Linked DNA regions of Homo sapiens: all the other regions are linked to region 1. The links are contacts of gene promoters, found by promoter capture Hi-C in blood cells and fetal thymus (Javierre and others, 2016). All regions are on one chromosome and are shown on one strand. The core of a region is centred on a gene start or on the middle of the fragment in contact, and the rest is flanking DNA. Distances in the headings are between cores, read along the strand shown.

Region 1 (2,526 bases), core at 20-2,519:
AATACAAAAAATTAGCCGGGCGTGGTGGCGGGCGCCTGTAGTCCCAGCTACTCGGGAGGCTGAGGCAAGACAATGGCGTGACCCTGGGAGGCGGAGCTTGCAGTGAGCTGAGATCGCGCCACTGCACTCCACCCTGGGTGACAGAGCGAGACTCCGTCTCAAAAAAAAAAAAAAAAAAAAAAAAAAAGAGTTCGACACCAGCCTGGCCAAAATGGTGAAACCCCATCTCTACTAAAAACAAAAAAAATTAACCGGGCGTGGTGGCGGACGACTGTAATCCCAGCTACTCGGGAGCCTGAGGTAGGAGAATCACTTGAACTCGGGAGGCGGAGGTTGCAGTGAGCCAAGATCGCGCCACTGCACTCCAGCCTGGGCAACAAGAGCGAAACTTCGTCTCCAAAAAAAAAAAAAAAAAAAAGGACAACTTTTGATCCCTGAGGCTGCTAATTCCAACTGTGTGCATGTGCTTAACAAATACCTCCGCACCCAGGCCTGGGAAGTTGGCTGATTTGTGTACAGCAAATACGGCAGGCCTGATGTAGCAGAACTCTGACGAAAACGAACTGGACGCGTATTTCTCCTGCAGCGAAGGTCACGCTGCTGACAGCCTCTGCTTTGCACTTTGTCCCTGGGAAGGAGGCCTGTGGCCAGTCCTACCTCCTGGAAAGCCGGGGTGCGTCAGAGGACCTGATGCGGAGCGGGGACCCCATCCTCTCCGTGTCTCCCCAAGAGCCGGCGGCAGAGGCTGCCTGCGCTCCTTAAGCTAGGTCAGTTCTCTGGCCCGCAGTTCTCGTTCTCCTAACATCCTCCGCAGAAAACGACCTTCATTTTTTCCTCTTGCGCCAGTCTTGAAGCGGGGCGTCCTTTGGGCTCACGTTGCGGCGCCCAGCGGCCTCAAGCGTCAGCTGCCTCCAGGGCCTCAGGAGCAGTGGCTAGGGCCTGCCCTCCAGCGCCCGGGGTCCTCGGCCCAGCCCTGCTCCGAGCGCGTCACAATGGCGTCGCGGCCCCGCCCCCGGACGCCCAGCCGCGGTCCCAGCGACCTTCGCTTTCGTGGGGAAGCCGGACTGCGCCGTGTCTTCCTGAAGAAGGCTGGGGTAAGAGTCCGGCCAGCGGACAAGAGGGCAGCTGGTAGCAGGGTGGGATGCCCGTGGCATAGGGCCGAGCCCCCGCTAGGCACGCGGGAGCAGCAAGGCTTCCGGAAGCGCAGGGAGCGCTGGACTGGCGGGCGCCCGGGATTCGCGCAGGCCCCGCCCCTCGGCGGCCCCGCCCAGGGAGCGCTGCGGCAGTTTCCATGGTGAGATGGTCAACAAGCCTGTAAGTTCCTCAGCTACGACTACCAGGTACCTCGGGTTCCTCCCTCCTCCGAGAGACCGCCGAGGTGCGGGCTGTGAGAGGGGGAGCGTGGAGCCTCCGAGGCCGAGGTGAGGGGCGGCCGGCGGGCAGGGGCCGGGTCTGAGGTCGAGGGCCGCACACCCAGGATCGAGCGGGGACTGGGCCCGCTGGGGGTGGGGACCGTGGGGCTGGGATTTGGGATCAGGGCGAGTCGTGGCAGAGAGAACCCGGAGGATCTTTGACCCCAGTGCGGGAGCGGCCAGCCCACCCTAGAGAAGCGAGACAAGGGCAACCAGAAGGAACCGAGTCTGAGGAAGCGCTTCCTCTGGGCAGGGATATTGGGAGAGTCCTGGACGAGTGACCCTGGACCTAGGAGGCATGAGAGGTCTACACACACTTGCAAGGATACCTTCATGATTGTTGAGTTGTGGTGAGAAAAGAGGCTCTTTTTAGTTTATTTTTTAAGGCAGTACATTCACATCCTTAAGAGTCAGAAACTTGCACAAGGCCTTATTACTCAAAACTCCCTTTTCCCAGTTCCTTCTGAGGAAATAGTTGCAAATCTTTGAACTTTTTTCCTCCGGAAATTTTCTTTTTTTCTCTTACATCGGCAGCTCTTCACTGTGTTCTTCCTTCATTAGCTTTACTAAGTTTGTATTCTTTGGTTGGAAATATTTATTTATTTATTTATTTATAAATAGAAACAGGGGTATCACTATGTTGCTCAGGCTGGTCTTGAACTCCTGGGCTCAAGTGATTCTCCTGCTTTAGCTTTCCAAAGTGCGGGGATTACAGGCTGAACCACCGCCTGCCACCGAAATATTTCTTCATTGAGTTCCTTTGCCTCCTAGTGTTACTTTTCTGCTGTGTGTGTAATAGCCATTTGTTTTTTCTTTCTCCTTTCTGGTCATATCCTTAAATACATTTTGCACTAATTCCTTTTGAAACCTCATCATGGAGAGAACTTGAATTTAGCAGATTAGGGGTGAGTGCAGGCTTTTGTCTTAGGTTCCATATATATATATATTTTGAGGTGGAGTCTCCCTCTGTCGCCCAGGCTGGAGTGCAGTGGCGTGATTTTGGCTCACTGAAACCTCCACCTCCTGGCTTCAAGCAATTCTCCTGCCTCAGCCTCCCAAGTGACGAGGGTTACAGGCACGTGCCACCACACCCGGCTAATTTTTGTATTTTTAG
Region 2 (2,526 bases), core at 8-2,507, 340 kb before region 1:
AGGAAGGCCCGTTCTCCCCTGCACATGTGGGCTTTGTGGTGGGGGCTTTGGGAAGCCCAGGCCTGTCCTACCTCTAGTCCCTGGACCACTAAAGGTGCTTGCACATCATGGAGGCCCCAGAGGAGCACCTGTGGGATTCCCAGACTGGATCTGCTCCTGCGACAGATGGGGTGCCAGGGCCCTACCCACTCTTCTGCAGCCTGGGCATCACCAGAGCCACCCCACGGCCACCCAAGGGCAAATGGTTCTTATTGGGAAGACCAGGGCCAGAGGTGTGTGTCCCAGAGAAAACTAGACCCAGCTGAGCTGCATTGCCTCTCCCCACCTGAGCTCAGCCAACCCCTAGCATCCTCTCTGGGGTAAGAACATGGACCCCACTGCCTGCATGGATAGCCCAGACATAGGATGCCACATGGGATTGGGAGGGGGCTCATCGGGGCCAGGGCATCTGGACCCTCCTCGCCCTGTGAGGCCACTATGAGTTACAATCTCTCACCCTCTGTCGCCAGAAATGCAGCACCCCCTCCCACCCCGAGGGCACTGTCATGGGAGCAGTGTTCCTGATGTACAGTGAGCACTTCAAGAGAAGCTTTCTCCTGTTCTATTTTCCCACTGTGGGACTCCAGACGTCTCACCTGTTCTCTTCCAGGCTCCCCTTGGCACTTGATTGTTTCCCCCAGGTGTGTCCTGGAGGAGCCCAGCGGCCCTGGGGGCGTTCTCAACTGCTGCTGCAGGCCCCGCCCTCCAGACCCCTCAGCGACCTCAAGCAGCAACCGTCTGGGTGGGAGCAAACTGATCAAAAAGAGAGATCGATTACATACAAGTGCAGTATTCCTAATGTGTCCTTTGGATGTTGGTATTGTTTGGGCATTCTAGAGTCTATTTGCAGGTTCTTAATGGATTTTAAGCATTTTTTGCCTATTTATCCATCTTTTTAAAAATTCATACGATTTTTTATTGTGGAAAAATATACACAAAAATGATTTACAATGTAACTATTTTTAAGTATACATTTCAGGGACATTAAGTACATTCACATTGTTGTACAGCCATCACCACCTCCGTCCCTGAACTTTTCATCTTCCCAAACTTAAACTCTGTCCCTATCAAACACTAACTCCCCATCCTGTCTCCCCCAAGCCCTAGCAATCACCATCCTATGTTGTGTCTGTGAATTTGACTACTCTAGGGATCTCACATAAGTGGAATCGTGCAGTGTTCATCCTTTTGCAATGGGCTTATTTCACTTAGCATAATGTGCTCAAGGGTTATCAGTGTTATAGCCTGTGTCAGGATTTTCCTCCTTTTTTTTTTTTTTTTTTTGAGACAGGTCTTGTTCTGTTGTCCAGGCTGGAGTGCAATGGCACAATCTCGGCTCACTACAACCTCCGCCTCGTGGGTTCAAGCCATTCTCCTGGCTTAGCCTCTCAAGTAGCTGAGATTATAGGCGCCCGCCTTCATGCCCAGCTAATTTTTGTATTTTTAGTAGAGACGGGGTTTCACCATGTTGGCTAGGCTGATCTTAAACTCCCGACCTTAAGTGATCTGCCCACCTAGGCCTCCGAAAGTATTAGGATTACAGGCGTGAGCCACTGCGCCCGGCCAGATTTCCCTCCTTTCTAAGACTGAATATTCCATTGTATGTATAGACCATGTTTTGTTCATCCATTCATCCATTGATGGCCACTGAGGTTGCTTCCACCTTTTGTCTATCGTGAATAGTGCTGTTGTGAACATGGGTGTGTAAATATCTATTTGAGACTTGGCTTTCAATTCTTTTGCGTATGTACCCAGAAGTGGGATTGGTAGATCATATGGTAATTCAATTTTTAAGTTTTTGGGAACTACCTTCTTGTTTTTCATGATAACTGTATATTATTTTCCATTTTCACCGACAATGTACATGAGTTCCAAAAACTATTTTAAAAGCTTTCCACTGTGGGAAATGTTGGCCACACACAGTCAGCAGCATAGTGCACCGTGCCCCTGCTTGGGCTCACTCAGCCACAGCCGAGGCTAGCATCCTGCCTTCTTCAAGGAAGCTACGCCTCTGTCCACAGCGCCTTCAGTGATTCATTTTTCAGTTATTTAGGTAAAAATTACATAGATAGGCCGGGCACGGTGGCTCATACCTGTAATCCCAGCACTTTGGGAGGCAGAGGCGGGCGGATCGCCGGAGGTTGAGAGTTCGAGACCAGCCTGACCAACATGGAGAAACCCCATCTCTACTAAGAAAATACAAAATTAGCTGGGCATGGTGGTGCATGCCTGTAATCCCAGCTACTGGGGAGGCTGAGGCAGGAGAATCGCTTGAACCCGGGAGGTGGAAGTTGTGGTGAGCCAAGATTGCACCATTGCATTCCAGCCTAGGCAACAAGAGCAAAACTCCATCTCAAAAATAAATAAATAAATAAATAAATAAATAAATAAATAAATAAATAAAAATTACATAGATAAGATGCACGGACCTTAGCTGCACAATACTGACAAACGAATATGCCCACGTGATCTGCACCCTTCTCAGGA
Region 3 (2,526 bases), core at 27-2,526, 310 kb before region 1:
CGTGCAGGCTACACTGTCACACACTGCTGCCAAGACAGCCACACTGCACTAAGGACATAAATCCCTCATGTGTTTAAGTAAAAGAAGTGACAGTAAGATTGTGTTCCAACCCAAGGCACACATTTTAAAAATGGACTTGCACCTTCAGGCTTGTCTGTGGAGAAGCTGTTTCTCAAGTCACCCTGGAAAGGATTTGTTAGGTCAGACCCCAGCACTGATGAGGGATGTAGGGGGCTGGGGGCACTCATTCAGAGATGCTAAAAGCACCCTGCAATACAATAAGAGAGAAAAAACAGCCTCCCCCAAGGCACACAGACAAATCCCTTCCCTCAAGGCTCCTTCAGTGTGGTAGCTGCTGGCAAAGTGCCCAACATGGAAATGCTAGATGTTGGTTTCCCAAACACATTGGCCCTCAGAACCCCAGGGGAGATCTTGCAGGGGGAGTTCCAGGCCCATGCATAGGGAAGCACTGCTCTGCACTACCAGCAGGCCTGTGGCATGTGACAAGCTGGCCCTGTGTGCCTGTGGGTGGGCAGCTGACTCCCGCCAGCATCTCAGCAATCCACAGGAGGTTCAGGCTGGAGCTCCAGCCCCTTCAAAGATGTGTGTGGCCAGTTCTGTGCCCAGGAGTGTCTACAGCACTCCTCTGGTTACTGAAAGCTCAGGGATAGGGCCTGGCCTTCTCCTTTACCCCTCCTTCCTAGAGAGTTAGAGTAACTTCAATGTCTTTATTCCATCTTCTCTTTAGGGTCGGATTCCAGTTAAATGGATGGCAATTGAATCCCTTTTTGATCATATCTACACCACGCAAAGTGATGTGTAAGTGTGGGTGTTGCTCTCTTGGGGTGGAGGTTACAGAAACACCCTTATACATGTAGTGGGGCCACGACGCCCGTCTGTGCAGCTTGGCCAGGGAATTGCACTGGCCCTGAGCACCTGTCTGCAGTGCTAGCCCTCTGCAATGACCCCCTCACTGAGGGGCCTTCATGATGTGTTCGTGAGGCAAATGGCTGGGCCAGGCCGGGCTGCAGTTCTGAAAGCTCCGGTAGAGCATGAGAGCCGAGCAGGTGGCCAGTAACCCAGCCTCCCCCACCCTTGCTAGTCCCATGCCTCCCTCTGGGTCCCTTGGTGACTCAGGCCCAGCCCAGCAGTTACCCTCCTGTGGTCCTGAGTAGGGCTTTGGGCTCAGGCAGAGCACCCAGTGACTTGCCCCCACCCACAAGTGGAGCTTGGGGACTCCACCTGAAGATGGCCTTGTGTGAGTTTATAGATTGGTGTGCCCCAAACTGCTCAAAGGTGGAAGCCAAAATCTCATTCTTCCAGGTCCAATGACAAGAGCTGATCACTTTTAAAACACAGGATTCTTGCCTCTAAAGTGTTCTACAGTCAGCAGAGGTGTGATGTGCCTCTCTTTTTTTGTGGGGGGAGGGGATAGGGTCTCACTCTGTCACCCAGGTTGGAGTGCAGTGGCGCAATCCTGGCTCACTGCAACCTCCACCTCCTGGGTTCAAGCGATTCCTGTGCCTCAGCCTCCTGAGTAGCTGGGATTACAGGCACGTGCTACTTCGCCTGGCTCATTTTTTTGTATTTTTTGGTAGGGACAGGGTTTCACCATGTTGGTCACACTGGTCTTGAATCCTGACCTCAAATGATCCACCCACCTCAGCCTCCCAAAGTGCTGGGATTACAGGCGAGAGCCACCACGCCTGGCCAACATGTGCATCTTAAATACTGTGGGCTGTGAATAAGCAATTGGACAACAGCTTTCCGATTATATAAGCTGACTGTAGGCTAGTTGGAAAAGGCAGAGAAAAGCATAAAGAAGAGACTGAATGTCATTGGACCACACCGCCCAGTGACCTCTGGCTGCCCTCTGGTGTGCTCCGTGGTGTGCACATGTATGCTTTTTATTGCCCTAAATGGGCTCATGCGATGCTGTTTTGTGATATGATTTTGTTCCCATTGCAAAGCGAGTTTTCCTTCACAGTTAAAATGTTTTTCTATAGCTTTTTTTCCTTCTAAGATTTTATGAAATTTTCCAAGCACATAGAAATGGCAAAAGAACTATACAAGGCACTCTGAGTCTGGTGGCCTGCATTCTCACCGCTTTAAGTGTGAGAATCTTAAGAATTATTAAGATTAATTCATGATATTAATTAATGTATCATTAATTCATTAATCATGAATTCATCTTAAGCCTCATGTGTCCCTTGTGCGTGTGGCTGCTCTGATGGGAGTGGCTTGGGCAAGGACTTCAGCTTCATGGAGTAGGGGCCAGGCAGGCAGGCAGCCCTTCCCCACCTTCATGCTACATCCATCTGAGCAGCCAGACCCAGGCTGACATCTGTGAGCATCTGTGCTTGAAGCCGACAGGGTCAGCAGGTGCTTGGTGGTGGGGGTGGATATCTGGGCCCCCCGGAGGGCTCTGTGAGGGCCAGGTGGAGCCACTCACTGGTCCTTTCACTCTCTGCAGATGGTCTTTTGGTGTCCTGCTGTGGGAGATCGTGACCCTAGGGGGAAACCCCT
Region 4 (2,526 bases), core at 8-2,507, 280 kb before region 1:
GGAAATAGAATAAAACAGCTCTTGTTGCATGTGTATGATTTATATTCCTCACTTACCTGATCTTGGTGTTCTTTTTTATGTTTTTAAAAAATGTGTAAACTAAAACTCAAAACTTGAAAACCATTTGATAAAGGAAAGAAAAAATTAGTAGACTCTTAGCTATTTTTCGTATTGGAGGAAGGAGAAGCTCATGTCTGAACAAGGGGTTATACATAGTTTAAAAAGCACATTTGGCATTTGGAAAAGTAAGGAAATACCTGTTTTCCTAATACATATTTCAGAAAGGGTATGGAATTTTTATGTATCAAGATGGGATGTGACTCAGAGGTTGAAGAACACTGCTATAAAATTTAAGATATTGATTGATATTAACAGTAATAATTCTAGATCCCTACCCATCTCCTTTACACTCACTGCTAGACATTTAATTGCTGACTTAAACCATTTTAAAAATAAATGTTTCTTGAAAGTTCTCTTTGCTTGATTCTATAAACTGTGTTATCACAGTGGTCCCCAGCCTTTTTGGCACCAGGGACTGGTTTCATGGGTGACAATTTTTCCATGGGATGGTGAGGATGGTTTTGGGATGAAACTGTTCCACCTCAGATCATCTGGCATTAGTTAGATTCTCATAAAGAGCGTGCAGTGTAGATTCCTTGCATGTGCAGTTCACAACAGAGTTTGCTCTACTTTGAGAATCCAGTGCAGCCACTGATCCGACAGGAGGCGGAGCTCAGGCGGTAATGCTTGCCAGGCTCCCATCACTCACCTCTTGCTGTGCCGCCTAGTTCCCAACAAACAGGCCACGGACCAGTAGCGGTCTGTGGCCTGGGGGTTAGGGACCCCTCGTATAGCACATGTAGACTTTTTGACTCCAAATCATCATGGCCATCACTTGCTGCACTGTAGCATTATTATAATACACTGAGGCCCTTGGAGGCCATCAGGGAGGGCATTATGCTTTGCAGTGGCATTGCAGCTGCCTTTCCTTGTGGCCTCCTCTTTTTTCTGCTGTCACTTCCTGCCATTTTTGATGGATTATTTTTCTCAAAACTCTTCTGATTTTTCTGCAAGCTCAGCTTTTTGTCTTCTCACTGTATGTTTGTAGCTTATGGCAGAATTGGAAGCTGCGGAGGAAATAAGATAACTAAGTAACATGTGTAAAATGTCCTCACATCAGCTCTACCTAAAAAGAAAGGGAGCTGTGCCAGTTTTATATTCTGCAGCTCCTGCTTTTGTCTTATAACTCTCCTTGGATTCTGATACTTCAGGATTTTTCTCTAAATGGAACATATTCTGTTCCTCACTTTTCCTCTACTGTGCCACTGTCTGCCCACTGCAGGGAGAATAATTACTAATAATTAGTAATGACAACTAATTCCTATCCCTCTTCTAAACTTTAGCTCAGATATCACTTCTTCTGAGAAGTCATCTGCAACCTCAGGTCTAAGACAGCAGTACTTCTGTGTGCTCTTGTCACCTGTACATTCATACTGCTTGTCACAGTATGTGGCATTGCCCATTTCCTGGTTTGTGCTTCCTACTAAAGTGTAAGCCTCAGGAGGGTTGGGACCAAGTCTATTTTATTCACCATTTTATACCCAGATATTTACTGAGTGACTCACACATCTGTAGGTCTAACCTTCTTCTCTCTCCTGAGCGCCATACTTAAAAATCAGATTGCCACTGGGCGCAGTGGCTCACTCCTGTAATCCCAGCACTTTGGGAGGCCGAGGTGGGCAGATTATGAGGTCAAGAGATCAAGACCATCCTGGCCAACATAGTGAAACCCCGTCTCTACTAAAAATACAAAAATTAGCTGGGCGTGGTGACACACGCCTGTAGTCCCAGCTACTTGGGAGGCTGAGGCAGAAGAATTGCTTGAACCCGGGAGATGGAGGTTGCAGTGAGCCAAGATTGCACCACTGCACTCCAGCCTGGTGACAGAGTGAGACTCCGTCTAAAAAAAAAAAAAAAAAAAAAAATCAGATTGCCTCGTAGATGCGCATGCTTTTCTCTCAAAGGCATCTCAAATCACTGTGTTTAAATCTGTACCAATTTTTCTTTGACTTCACTCTAGTCAGTGATTTTATATGTATGTATGTATACACACATATATATATACAGATATATATATATATCACATAGCACTATATTGTTATTATTTGTCTATTTTTCTGTCTCCTTCACTAGACTGGCCCTGTCCTCAAAATTGAGACCATGTGGCACTCTTTGTATCACATAACTGACACGAAGGCACTCGATTTCTTTTAGTTGACCTAAACCAATAGAAATTTTGGCTCTTGGGTCTAGATTTTAATATTGCTAGAAGTAATTTCTTTATTTATCATGATTACCATATTGATAGGCTCTAGTATTTTTAAAAAGTCGTATGTAAAAAGGAACAATTGTCATTTGTAGTATATTTTATAGATTGAATAAAATAACAGAACAGTGAACTTTTTTTTTAACCTTTTCTTTTAAGCGAGTAATTGTTACTGTGCAGTGGGGATAAGTATTTTCACA

What was found. Contacts are between HindIII fragments. The CHiCAGO score rates a contact against its expected background, and 5 or more counts as called.
Region 2: a contact is called between a fragment that was not itself captured here and the fragment with the promoter of ZNF487 in region 1, in 1 of 17 cell types (neutrophils). The highest score is 5.3, in neutrophils.
Region 3: a fragment that was not itself captured here is called in contact with the fragment with the promoter of ZNF487 in region 1 in 2 of 17 cell types (monocytes and neutrophils); the score reaches 5.9 in monocytes.
Region 4: a contact is called between a fragment that was not itself captured here and the fragment with the promoter of ZNF487 in region 1, in 5 of 17 cell types (neutrophils, activated CD4 T cells, monocytes and 2 more). The highest score is 10.4, in neutrophils.

The regions. Positions count from the first base shown.
Region 1 is chr10:43,435,842-43,438,367 of GRCh38, forward strand. ZNF487 (zinc finger protein 487) reads left to right here and starts at 1,270. Exons shown (of 4, transcript NM_001355444.3): 1 at 1,270-1,421. RefSeq lists an enhancer at 725-794 and a silencer at 895-1,554. The HindIII fragment of the contact is 37,036 bases long and covers 1-2,526 here.
Region 2 is chr10:43,097,118-43,099,643 of GRCh38, forward strand. All of the region lies in intron 1 of RET (ret proto-oncogene), which reads left to right. Among named protein-coding and RNA genes, the nearest start is that of RET, 21 kb to the left of the region's middle. The HindIII fragment of the contact is 1,340 bases long and covers 588-1,927 here.
Region 3 is chr10:43,121,198-43,123,723 of GRCh38, forward strand. It overlaps RET (ret proto-oncogene), which reads left to right. Exons shown (of 20, transcript NM_020975.6): 16 at 749-819; 17 at 2,474-2,526. Among named protein-coding and RNA genes, the nearest start is that of CSGALNACT2-DT, 16 kb to the right of the region's middle. RefSeq lists enhancers at 1-58, 809-858. The HindIII fragment of the contact is 4,320 bases long and covers 1-2,526 here.
Region 4 is chr10:43,156,065-43,158,590 of GRCh38, forward strand. The region is part of intron 2 of CSGALNACT2 (chondroitin sulfate N-acetylgalactosaminyltransferase 2); the gene reads left to right. Among named protein-coding and RNA genes, the nearest start is that of CSGALNACT2, 19 kb to the left of the region's middle. The HindIII fragment of the contact is 6,189 bases long and covers 1-2,526 here.